Linked DNA regions of Homo sapiens: region 2 is linked to region 1. The links are contacts of gene promoters, found by promoter capture Hi-C in human tissues and cell types (Jung and others, 2019). All regions are on one chromosome and are shown on one strand. Each heading gives the region's core, a stretch centred on a gene start or on the middle of the fragment in contact. The rest is flanking DNA. Distances are from core to core; before and after follow the strand shown. Region 1 holds the start of KAZN (kazrin, periplakin interacting protein). Region 2 overlaps KAZN (kazrin, periplakin interacting protein).

Evidence for each region. Contacts are between HindIII fragments. The study calls those that stand out against the background at their distance.
Region 2: a contact is called between a fragment that was not itself captured here and the fragment with the promoter of KAZN in region 1, in 1 of the 25 tissues and cell types used here (H1 embryonic stem cells).

Annotation. Positions count from the first base shown.
Region 1 is chr1:14,595,637-14,601,149 of GRCh38, forward strand. It overlaps KAZN (kazrin, periplakin interacting protein), which reads left to right and starts at 3,049. Exons shown (of 15, transcript NM_201628.3): 1 at 3,049-3,587. The coding sequence starts at 3,362. RefSeq lists a silencer at 3,716-3,875. The HindIII fragment of the contact is 4,572 bases long and covers 2,043-5,513 here.
Region 2 is chr1:14,795,763-14,801,275 of GRCh38, forward strand. The region is part of intron 1 of KAZN (kazrin, periplakin interacting protein); the gene reads left to right. Among named protein-coding and RNA genes, the nearest start is that of KAZN, 200 kb to the left of the region's middle. The HindIII fragment of the contact is 4,289 bases long and covers 697-4,985 here.

The sequences.
Region 1 (5,513 bases), core at 1,799-4,298:
CGCCACTGCACTCCAGCCTGGGCGACAGAGCAAGACTGCGTCTCAAAAAAAAAAAAAAAAAAGAAAAAGAAAAAGAAAGAAAAAAGAAAGGTAGACCTTTTTGGTTTAAATCAAGTATACCCGCAGAGGCTAATTGATTGCAGACTTTCTATCTAAGATCTAGTCCTTTGGTGTGTGGGTGAACATAAGGACACACAACTGGAAAAAGCCCCTTTTTTTCATGTTAGGAAAAAAAACTCTCAAAAAATAAAATTCTTAAAATCCTAGGAGGCACCCCAGGAGTTTCTAAAGCAGCTTCTTGAAACCTCAAAAATAGAGGGATGAGAAGGGGCTCAAGGAATGAGTCTTTTCTTTTCTCCTTATTAGATTTTTTTGTTTTGATTTGATTTGAAGATTCCGGTGTGTGGGAATAATCTCACTGAAGAGCAAAATGAGTAACACTGGGTCACTTTGTTTACTACACAAACACACTCACACGCATTCATTTACAGAACACTTACTACGGGCTAGGGCGGCAAGGACGCAAAGATGAATGACATAAAAAGCCGGATAACCCTCCTTCCCCCACCCACAAGTTCCCAGTGAAGTGGGAGAGAGACATATAAACAGATAAATTACTGTTTCTTCTGCTGAGTGCTATACCAGAGGTGTGAGTGCACGCACACGTGTGCGCACACACACACACACACACACACACACACGGCCCTCTAAATAGAGCTACTCTTAACTGTTTGCTCAGAAGCCCTAGTTCCAAAACATTCCCATCCTCTCTATTTGTGTATTTGCATATATGACTTTTTGATTGAGGTAAAATTTACATAACATGAAATTAAGCCCTTTAAAGTGAACAATTCAATGGCACTTAGTACATTCACCGTGTTGTGCCACCACCACCTCTGTCTAGTTCTAAAACATTTTCATCAGTCAGCACAAAGTAACACCCGGCACCTATTAAGCAGTTACTTCTCATTCTTCCCTCCCCACAGCCCCTGACAAACACCAATCTGCTTCCTGTTTCATGGATTTATTTATTCTGGATATTTCATATAAATTGAATCGTATAATATGTGACCTTCTATGTCGGGCTTCTTTCAACTAACATAATGTTTTGGAGCTTCATCCACGTAGTAGTAGCATGTATCAGTACTCTTCACGGCTGAGTAATATTCCATTGCATACTGCAATTTGTTCATCCAATCATCTGTTGATGGACATTTGGGTTATTTCTGCCTTCTGGCTACTAATGAACAGTGCTGCTATGAACATTCATGTACAAATTTTTGTTTGGATATTTGTTTTGGACATATACCTAGGAGTGGATTTGCTGGGTCGTATGGTAATCCTATGTTTAACTGTTCAAGGAACTGCTAATATGTTTTCCACAATGGCTGCACCACGGCATCCCCCTTTTCAAGACCCACACAGCTCTGTAGTTTTGATGCTCTCCCCATAACGTAACTGAAAGACTGCAAAGAACTGAATCCTGGTTTGCAGATACACTAAGCAGTTCTAAGTGCCTTGGTTGGTCCAGTTGGTAAGAACTTGTGTTAATGAGGTTAAGGTCAGGGTTCGATCCCCGAACTGACCCATTAGCTGAGCAGAGCGGACAGAGTGAAGAATTGTGTCTTCCTGCCACATGCTCCACCATCAAATCCTGCCCTCTTGCAAAAGCTTGTTAGTGGTCACAGGGGAATGGAGCAAGACTGTTTTTATGGTTCCACAGAAAAGGGGGGAGAAATCTATCATCCAAGGCCTCCTGAAGGCGCAGCAGGAGGAACTTGCAATCAGATGATTACTTTCTTCCAGTCCCGCTGTCACCTGGTTTCTGCGGGCCCCTTAAGTAAATTGCTTAACCCTATGCAGAGCCTCAGTTTCCTTATCCCTAAAATGGGAATAATAATCCTCACTCACAAGAGATAAGAATGCATATAAAAGCACTCTACACGCAGTTTTTGCTTGGTTCTTATGGGCTTCCTGTAAGAACCTGAAGGGTGGGCAGCCTCATTTTTCCTCGCAGCACCCCACTGGCTTCTGCAATCTGCTCTTTGCTGCTCTCCGGAGGTTGACTGAGCTGGAATGATGGCGCCCTGTTGACCAGAGGGTTGCTGGCTGTTTTAAATTGTCCTATTTGCATGGAATGAAGTTTGCTATGGTAACAAGGTCTGGTGGCTGGAATCCAGGGCCCCAGTGAAAAATGCAAAGCCTGTGGTCTGGGAGAGAAAGAGGAGCTGGAGAGGGCATATCAACGTCAGGTTACCTCAGTTCTTCTGTGAAGAGGGGATGGGTAAACTGAGGCAGCAGGGCTCAACTCTTCTGCTCCCAGTAGAAGAAAGGGAAGAAGCCCCATCGACGCCTTCCTTCTTATCTCTCAACCTCATCTCTGTCCCCGCCAATATTCAGCCCGGCTAAGAAGCTTAGGAGCTGGCTAAGGCTGCTCCTCCACCTGGATGCACACACAGGGCTAGGGCTGTGGAGAGGCGGGAGCACCAGCGGCCCACGCCGAGGAAGATAGGCGCTCCCTCCTGGGGTGGGCAGCGCAGGTCTGGCCTGCGGGTGGGGGGTGGAGAGTGAGAGGCACGCGGGGCACCAGCTCAGCTCCCCTCTGGGGATTTCGTACTCGCAGTTTAAGGAACCGGTGGAGCACGAACTCCACTCCTGAGCTGGCGCAAGCGTCTCCCTTCCATGGAGATCCACCCCGGCTCCCCTCTGAGGCCCCCTTTCCAAGCACCCTCTCTTCCGAGCACCCAGCACCTCCCCAACCTTAGCACGGCTCGGGGCACCAGTTCTCCAGGGCGGGGGCTGCCCCACCGCTCAAGGGAGGGGACAGAGGGCCGGCCTCGGTCCAGGCGACCCCTGCCCCTCGCCAGGGGCGCCACCTTGGCCCCCTCCCGACTGCCGTCCGCCGCCTCCGCCCCCCCGGGGGGTGTGTCTCCGAAGTACGGGGGCGCGGGAGGCCAAGGGTGCCCCCAGCCTCCGACCGAGACCCCCTCCCGAGCCGGCGGCGAATGGTAGGCTCCATTTAAAGAGTGCCTGGTGGCGCGCGGTGTCCTTCTTGGAGCAGCTCTCGGCGCCCGCCCGCCGGGGTCTCGGCGATCGCTGCTCCTCCTCCTCCTTCTCCTCCTCTTTTTTCTCCTCCGCCTCCTCCCCCCGCCGCCTCGCCACCGCCGCGGCTAGGGCTGGAGGCGCCGCTGTCATTCCTGTGCCGGAGGAACCGGCGCTGCCGGTGCCTGGGGGTCGGGGCGCGGGCGAAGCCGGGCCGCGGAGGACACAACAGGTAGAGCCGGGGGTGCCCGGCCGCGCGCCCCCCGCGCATCATGCAGCTCTTTGTCACCTCTCTCGCCCCCAGGCCAAAATCCTGAGCATGATGGAAGACAATAAGCAGCTCGCGCTCCGCATCGATGGGGCGGTCCAGTCGGCCAGCCAGGAGGTGACCAACCTGCGAGCCGAACTCACGGCCACCAACCGGAGACTGGCGGAACTGAGCGGCGGCGGCGGCCCCGGCCCGGGCCCGGGAGCCGCGGCCAGCGCCTCGGCGGCGGGGGACTCGGCGGCGACGAACATGGAGAACCCCCAGCTTGGAGCGCAAGGTAGGATCGCCCCGGCGCCCAGGGCGGAGGAAGGCGAGCAGAGCACGCCCGGCCTCGGAGGTGGCCGGGGACCCGGGGTCCCCCACACCCGGGGCGAAATCGCTTTGCATTCTGGCTTGTAACCCTTTCCGCCCGGCGGTGGCCACCGCTGCTCTCCGGCTGGGAGTTGCAGGCTGCTGTCATTCACGAAAACCCGAGCGCAGTGTGCACGGGGTCACACGGTCACACCGGCCCCGGCCAGCCTGAGCGAGGCGCAGCCGGCGGGTCCCTTCCGGCATCAGAAAGTGCCCTTTCCGTGGCACCAGCCCCCTAGCTCCGTGCAAACTTTTCATGCCGGGGCCTTTTCCCCACCCCCCGCAGGGGTGAATGGCACAGTTCCCCCCACTTCCTTAGGCTCCTTCCCAGAGAGAGCTCCGGGCTCTGCCGCCGTGGTTGGGATAGAGGATTGCACTGCTGTGCACTTTTCTCCGCGGATGCCAAATCCCTTGGCTCAGTTGCATCTGGACTTTATTTTCTTCTCATTTGAGGTCTCTCAGGCATTGGAATCTATAGATGCAACAGTAGATGCTCAGCTCAGCAGGGAGTTTAAATTTCCGCAAATATAAACACCGAGAGCACTTTCCAGGGGGATACTGTAGACCTCAAAGGTTGAGCGGTAGAGAAATGAAGGCTTAGGGTGGTGGGCTGCAGGGAGCCCGTTTGAAGGGACTCTGCGGTTTAGAGAAGAGGAAGAAAAAGACAGTTGGTTTGTGTTCACATTGACAGAGATTAAGCTCTGAAACCCCCTGCAAGACATAAAGGCGGATGGGGCATTCCCTAAAATGTACTGTTTGGTTTCTGTGACTTAGAAAGTAAAAGGGTAAGCAGGCTTTGGGGGATTTTTTTTTTCTTTTTGCCTAATTGCCCTTTAAGAAACAGTATCACTGGTTATTAATATCATTTGAATTGCAAATTAAACTGCTGAAATCCAGAACAGGACAGAAACAAATCTCCAGTCCATGAGGTCCACTTGTCTAAATATGTCACTTGAAGTGCAAGGTACCAATTGCTCAGTGGCTCAAAATGATTTTCTGGTTCTGTTGTCATTTCAAGAGCTTCTCTTGAGGGTTGAGAGAGTCTGTTTTCCTAAGAATCTGGTTCTCTCCATCAGTCTCTGTTTCCACCTTATCTTCCTGGGAAGGTGTGCTTTCTTTGAGGTGAGATGTGAAGCCTGCCCACGTGCAGTTTTATGTCGAATTCCAAGTCAGATCTTAACTTGGTACTCCCGGAGCCTGTTGGAAGTCTTAGGAATTGGGGGGAGTACTTTGGTAAGGAAGTAGCCATGACGTAATGGTGAGAAGGTGTTGTGGTCCTAGTGCTTGCTGCAAGCTTGACATGTGGTTATTCTTGTCATCCTTGCAATGTCATTGTGTGCGAAAGAACATTCTCCACTGGAACCTGTGCAAAAAAAAAAAAAAAAAAAAAAGACAGACTGCAAGGTAATGCTTCACTTTTTATAGGCAGAGGCTCTGCTAACATTAAAGAAATAGCTAAGAACTGGCATTTTGCTAAGAATCAAAAGCTGTATAGTAAAGGACACTGAACAATGCTCGTTTATTTCCCACTGTCTGCCCCTTTCTCCGCGAAGGAAAAGTTAAGTGGCTTTTTATCTGAGTCCTGGGTCTGGTTGTAGACTGGGCAGGCTAAGGCAGTCAACGCAGTAATGATGTCCACATGCTCAACTTGAAAACTGACATACTCGCGGATGGTTAAATTGTTGTAGTGGAGCAACAGGGGGCTGATTCCTTGTTCTTTTTTCCTACACAAATGCACAGGGCTGTGGAAATGAAAATGGCTTTTGGATCTCTTGGATATCCTTAAAAACACATAAAACCAGCAGCTCCCATACGCTCTCAGGACTGTGCCTGCCCATGTCAGTGGCTGGCT
Region 2 (5,513 bases), core at 1,591-4,090, 200 kb after region 1:
CTTTTCTTGTGGCATGACACACATTGCCTCCCTCAGGGCCTTTGCACATGCTGTTGCCTTGGCTGGGATGCTGTTTCCCTCATTTCCCCATCACTCAGGACTCTGCACAAAGGTCACCTTTCAGAAAGCCTTGTCTAACACAGGAAACCCTCACCGGCACCCATTCTTCCTCCCCGGGGCCTGCTGTGTGTTTCTTTCTGCCTTCTATACTGTACATTTGCTGTGTGTTTCTTTATGGCCTATCCTCCCCACCGCCTCCACTAGTGGTGAACTCCTCATGGGAGGAATCTATCCTCTGCCTGAGGTAGGCCCCACTTCGCCTCTCTTCCTTCTTGGACTTGGCCCCTCCAGTCGGACATGCTAGGTAAGCCACTTTCTGGCCTCCGTTCTGGTCCTGGTTCTTCTCTCCCTCAGAGATGTGTAATCCCACAGATAAGCCTGGGTCTCACTCCTGCAAATAAGCAGCACATGCCTCAATCCAGGGCTGGGCATGGTCCTCTCAGGCACCCTCTCCCCACCCACACCCGGGCTTTCCCAGCCAAAGCTCAGGCCACCTCCGTTCTCCAAACTCAAGGCCCATGTCTTAGTGAAGCCACGTGTCATGTCCCCATCCTGCATTCAGACCAGCCTGTGACAACCACATCTCCACCACCCCGCCTTCACATGAGCTCCATGGCTCCACAGACCTTGTCCTGCCCAGCTCTGATTCCCAGTCTCTAGAACAAAGCCTGGCACATGGTAGGTGTGCGCTACAGACTAGGGAAACTGACAATTCTTCAGACAGTCTGGAATCGCTGGAGAGCTCCAGGATGCGTTTCTGTTACAAAAAGGGTATAGACGTGCATGGTTCGGCTCAGCTCTATGTATCGCCGTATTTTGGAAGATCACTGTCTCTTCATTTGTAAGCATGGCACCAGGGAAGACTCTCCATTGGGTGTTTCCTCAAAGTACTGCCTTTGGCATAACACGAGAGTCCTCGCCCCCATCACCTGAAGGAGTGGGAAAGGAAGGGGTGAGTTTAAGAAAGACACAAACTTGACTGAAAGGAGAAAGAGTCTCGAACAGATGGCACAACCTGCCCGTTTCTCCACAGCATGACTGTGACAAAGAGAAGGAAGACCTGAGTCCACTCAGTGGTGAGGGCAGCTCCCAGGTACCCCATGTAAGGAAAATGGTGAAGACGGCCTGATGGACTTGGAAGCAGTGGGTTAAGCTATGTTGATGTATCATTTGGTGGCCACTTAGGTAACACACATGGAGGTAGAAAGGGCAGAAAGGTGGTGCTGGGTTTTTTTGTTTTTTGGTTTTTGTTTTTCAGATGGAGTTTTGCTCTCGTTGCCCAGGTTGGAGTGCAGTGGCATGATCTCGGCTCACTGCAGCCTCCGCCTCCTGGGTTCAAGTGATTCTCCTGCCTCAGCCTCCCAAGTAGCTGGGCTTACAGGCGTGCACCACCACCCCTGGCTAATTTTTGTATTTTTAGTAGAGACGGGGTTTCACCATGTTGGCCAGGCTGGTCTTGAACTCCTGACCTCAGGTGATCCGCCTGCCTCTGCCTCCCAAAGTGCTGGGATTACAGGCATGAGCCACCATCCCTGGCCTATGGTGCTGTTTTTAATTTAACTATGTTTTGTCCAAGAAGCGCTAACTGGAGACTCTAGCAGTGGGAACCTGGAAGCCGTTCCAGGAGATGAGAGTCTATGAAGAGGGATCGATGTGAGGGGATTAGAAAGTGTGTTGGAACCAAGAATGTTAAAAGGCCAAGTGAAGAGTTAAAGAGTTAAAAGGCGGAATGCAGAGTTAACAATACATCGAATCAAGAAAAATGAGGGCAATCTCATTCATTTTTATCACTGATCTCACTAAGCTTTTTTATTCTATTCTGCAAATAGAGGTTCTATAGCTTCAAGACAGAGTGTCGGCCCTGGAGTCAGGAAGATCCAGGTTCAAATTTTAGCTCCACCTTGGACTAGTTACGGGGCCCCAGGCAAATTACCTCTCCAAGCCTCAGTTTCCTCATCTGCAAAATGGTCATCACAGCATGTCTCTTTCATTGAGTAGCCGTGAGGATTCAATGAAATAGTCCTTGTGGAGTGCTTAGTGCAACTCCTAACTCAACACTTAAAAGATGCCAGCTCTCATTTATTCATCAAAAACACGATGCCCACGATGTGCCAAGGAACCCTTCTTGGTGCTTGACAGGCACTGATTCAGTTGCTCTTTGTACACTGGGAAGAAGGGACTCCTATCTCCCCCACTTTACAGATGAGGAAACTGAGGCACAGAGAGGTTAAGAAAACTGTCTGAGTCATGCAGCTTGTGAGTGCCAGAGGCAAGTTTCAAACTCACGCATGACACCTCTGGGCTCCCTGTTGCTGCCGCTTACACAGTTTTGGGTCACCTGCTCCATGCTGAGCCTGGCACTGGAGCATCAATGCAAACGGGAAAGGAGTAAAACCACGGTGCTATCTTTACGTTGCTTGCCCTCTTAGTGGAGGGCTCACTCTCTCCTGGAGCCCACACTTACAAAGTAGAACATAATTAAGTAGGGCAGCATCCAAGCAACTTGAAAATGTCAGTCAGTAAACATCTCTTCTCCACAAAGAAATCAATAGCCCTCGGAGGTGATCTTTGCTTTCTTTTTTCTGTTTCTTTCCTTTTTTTTTTTTTTTTTTTTTTTTTTTTTGAGACAGAGTCTTGCTCTGTCACCCAGTCTAGAGTGCAGTGGCCCTATCTCGGCTCACTGCAAGCTCCACTTTCCACTTCCCAGGTTCACGCCATTCTCCTGCCTCAGCCTCCAGATTAGCTGGGACTACAGGCGCCCGCCACCACACCCGGCTAATTTTTTGTATTTTTAATAGAGATGGGGTTTCACCATGTTAGCCAAAATGGTCTCGATCTCCCGACCTCATGATCCTCCCGCCTCAGCCTCCCAGAGTGCTGGGATTACAGGCGTGAGCCACCACGCCCGGCCCACTTTCTTTTTTCTTTTCTTTTCTTTTTCTTTTTTATTTTATTTGAGACAGGGTCTGGCTCTGTCACCCAGGCTGGAGTGCAGAGGCATGATCTCGGCTCACTGCAGCCTCTGCCTCCCGGGCTCAAGCCATCCTCCCACCTCAGCCTCCCAAGTAGCTGGGACTACAGGCAAGTGCCACCACGCCCAGCCAATTATTTGTTTGTTTGTTTGTTTGTTTTTTCATAGAAATGGGGTTTTGCCAGGTTGCCCAGGCTGGTCTCAAACTCCTGAGCTCAAGTGATCTGCCTGCCTCAGCCTCCCAAAGTGCTGGGATTACAGGCATGATGAGCCACTGTGCCTGGACTACTTTCTCTCTGAGGGTGAGATGAACAGAGACCCAGTAAGACATGTGTTCGTTATTTTAAACTGCTGACATTTGTGGCATTGTTTGTTACTGCGGTATAACCTATCCTACCCTGTTTAAGGCCCCCTCTTAATACTACTTTACATCTCATTTGTACAGGATGTGTTCAGAATGGATGCGCAATGAATCCTTCTTAAGTTGAGGTAAACTCCATCAACTGAATTGCTTCAGGGCTGCAGAAGCTGAAATGGGTATTTTCATCTCTTCATCCAGAAAGGCTTCATTTGGGACACCTGTGGGAATGCCTGTTCCGCTTTCACGTTAGCCAATCTTTAAAGCTTTCATTAGCTATGATAAATTATTCAAAAAGGAGGAACACTTGAAACCTCTTTAGAATATTGACGTGGACCGACAGTAAATGAATGGAAAAGTACCTCCAGGTTCGAGGCTAACTTTCATTTAATTTTTTAGAGGAACCAGTCGAGTTGTTAAAATGATCAGAAACGGGCCTGGCCAGAGCCAGCTCTTCAAAGAGGGGATGTTATTACCTCCTTGACCATTCACTTAATCAGATCTGGTCGATGTCAAGAAAACAAAATTCCTCGTGCGATGGTGGGCTCAGGATATAATTAACAAGCGGATTTTACTTTTACCCAGAAACCCCTTAAGAACTTTTTTTTTGGAAAAGTAGGCTTCAACGAAATAAAAAAATTTAATGTACAATTTAGTTTCATTTCTGAAATCTTACACGATATTTTATAGGAAGCCTTGGAGACCCCCATCAGAATTCCTCTCCTTGAGTTCATTTTTATATCTTCATGTTTTTCTAATGAAACGGTATTAGATAATAGATGTCCCCGAAGGCCATATCAAAGTTATAAGTATCTGACATGTTTCTTCTCCTGAATTTTGGAGATGTTGTCAGACTATCTGCATATCTAGGGAAGTATGAGTGTCGTGGGGACTCAAGGCTTGGATGTATTGGGAATGGGATGGCAGGTCCATGATGAGCCAGATGAGGAGACAGCAGAGATTTACGGGAGGCAGAATCCTAACCCAAAAGTACCCCAAGGCTGACCCAGCATGGCAGATCTCCAGGTTTTTGTGATCCCAAAACCAAGAACCACATATGACTCAGCAACTCCATTCCTAGGTATACATCCACGAGAACTGAAAACGTGTGTCCACACAAACACTCCTATGAGCGTTCACAGCAGCATTATTCATGAGAGCTGAAAGGTGCAAATAACCCAAATGTCCAACAAAAGGTGAATGAATAAACAAGATGTGGTCAATCCATGCAATCAAATATTTTTAAGCCATAAGAGAATGAAGTAATTGCCAGACACGGTGGCTCGTGCCTGTAATCCCAGCACTTTGGGAGGCCGAGGCAAAAGGATCACTTGAGCCTAGGAGTTCAAGACTAGCCTAGGCAACATAGTGAGACCCCATCTCTACTACAAAACATTAAAAAATTAGCTTGGTGTGGTGGCACATGCCTGTGGTCCCAGCTACTCTGGAGGCTAAGGTGGGAGGATCGCTTGAGCCTGGGAGATGGAGGCTGCAGCGAGCCATGATTGCAACACCACACTCCAGCCTGCACAACAGAGTGAGGCCCTGTCTCAAAAAAGAGAATGAAGCACATGCTACAACATGCATGTCCCTTGAAAATGTGATGCTATGTGAAGCCAGTCACAAAAGACTACACGTTGTATGATTCCATTCATAGGAAATGTCCAGATTAGGGAAGTCTGTACATTAGGAAGACAGAAAGTAGCTTCGTAGTTGCCGGGGACTGTGGGAGGGGAAGTGGGGAGTGACTGCTCGTGGGTAGGGGTTTCTTTTGGGGCTGATAAAAATGTTCTGGAATTAGGTTACGGTGATAGTTGCACAACCTCATGAATATGCTAAAAAACACTGAATTGTACACTTTAAAAGGGTGAATTTTATGATCGATGAACTTTATCTCAAAAAAAAAAAAAAGAAATACGTGGGAGAAAAAGAGTCACGGGGCGCAGAGGGTGGTGATAAGAGGAGCCGTTCTAATCGTCGCGGCAAAGCAGAGGCAGGCAGTGAGTGGGGGGCTTTCCGGCAGCTGCCCTCTCGAGCCAGTCGGAGCCGTCTCAGGGTGTTTCAGCATCATCGTGGCTTTCTCTCTCCGTCACCGCTCAGCAAGCTCCTCGGGGAAATGTGCGT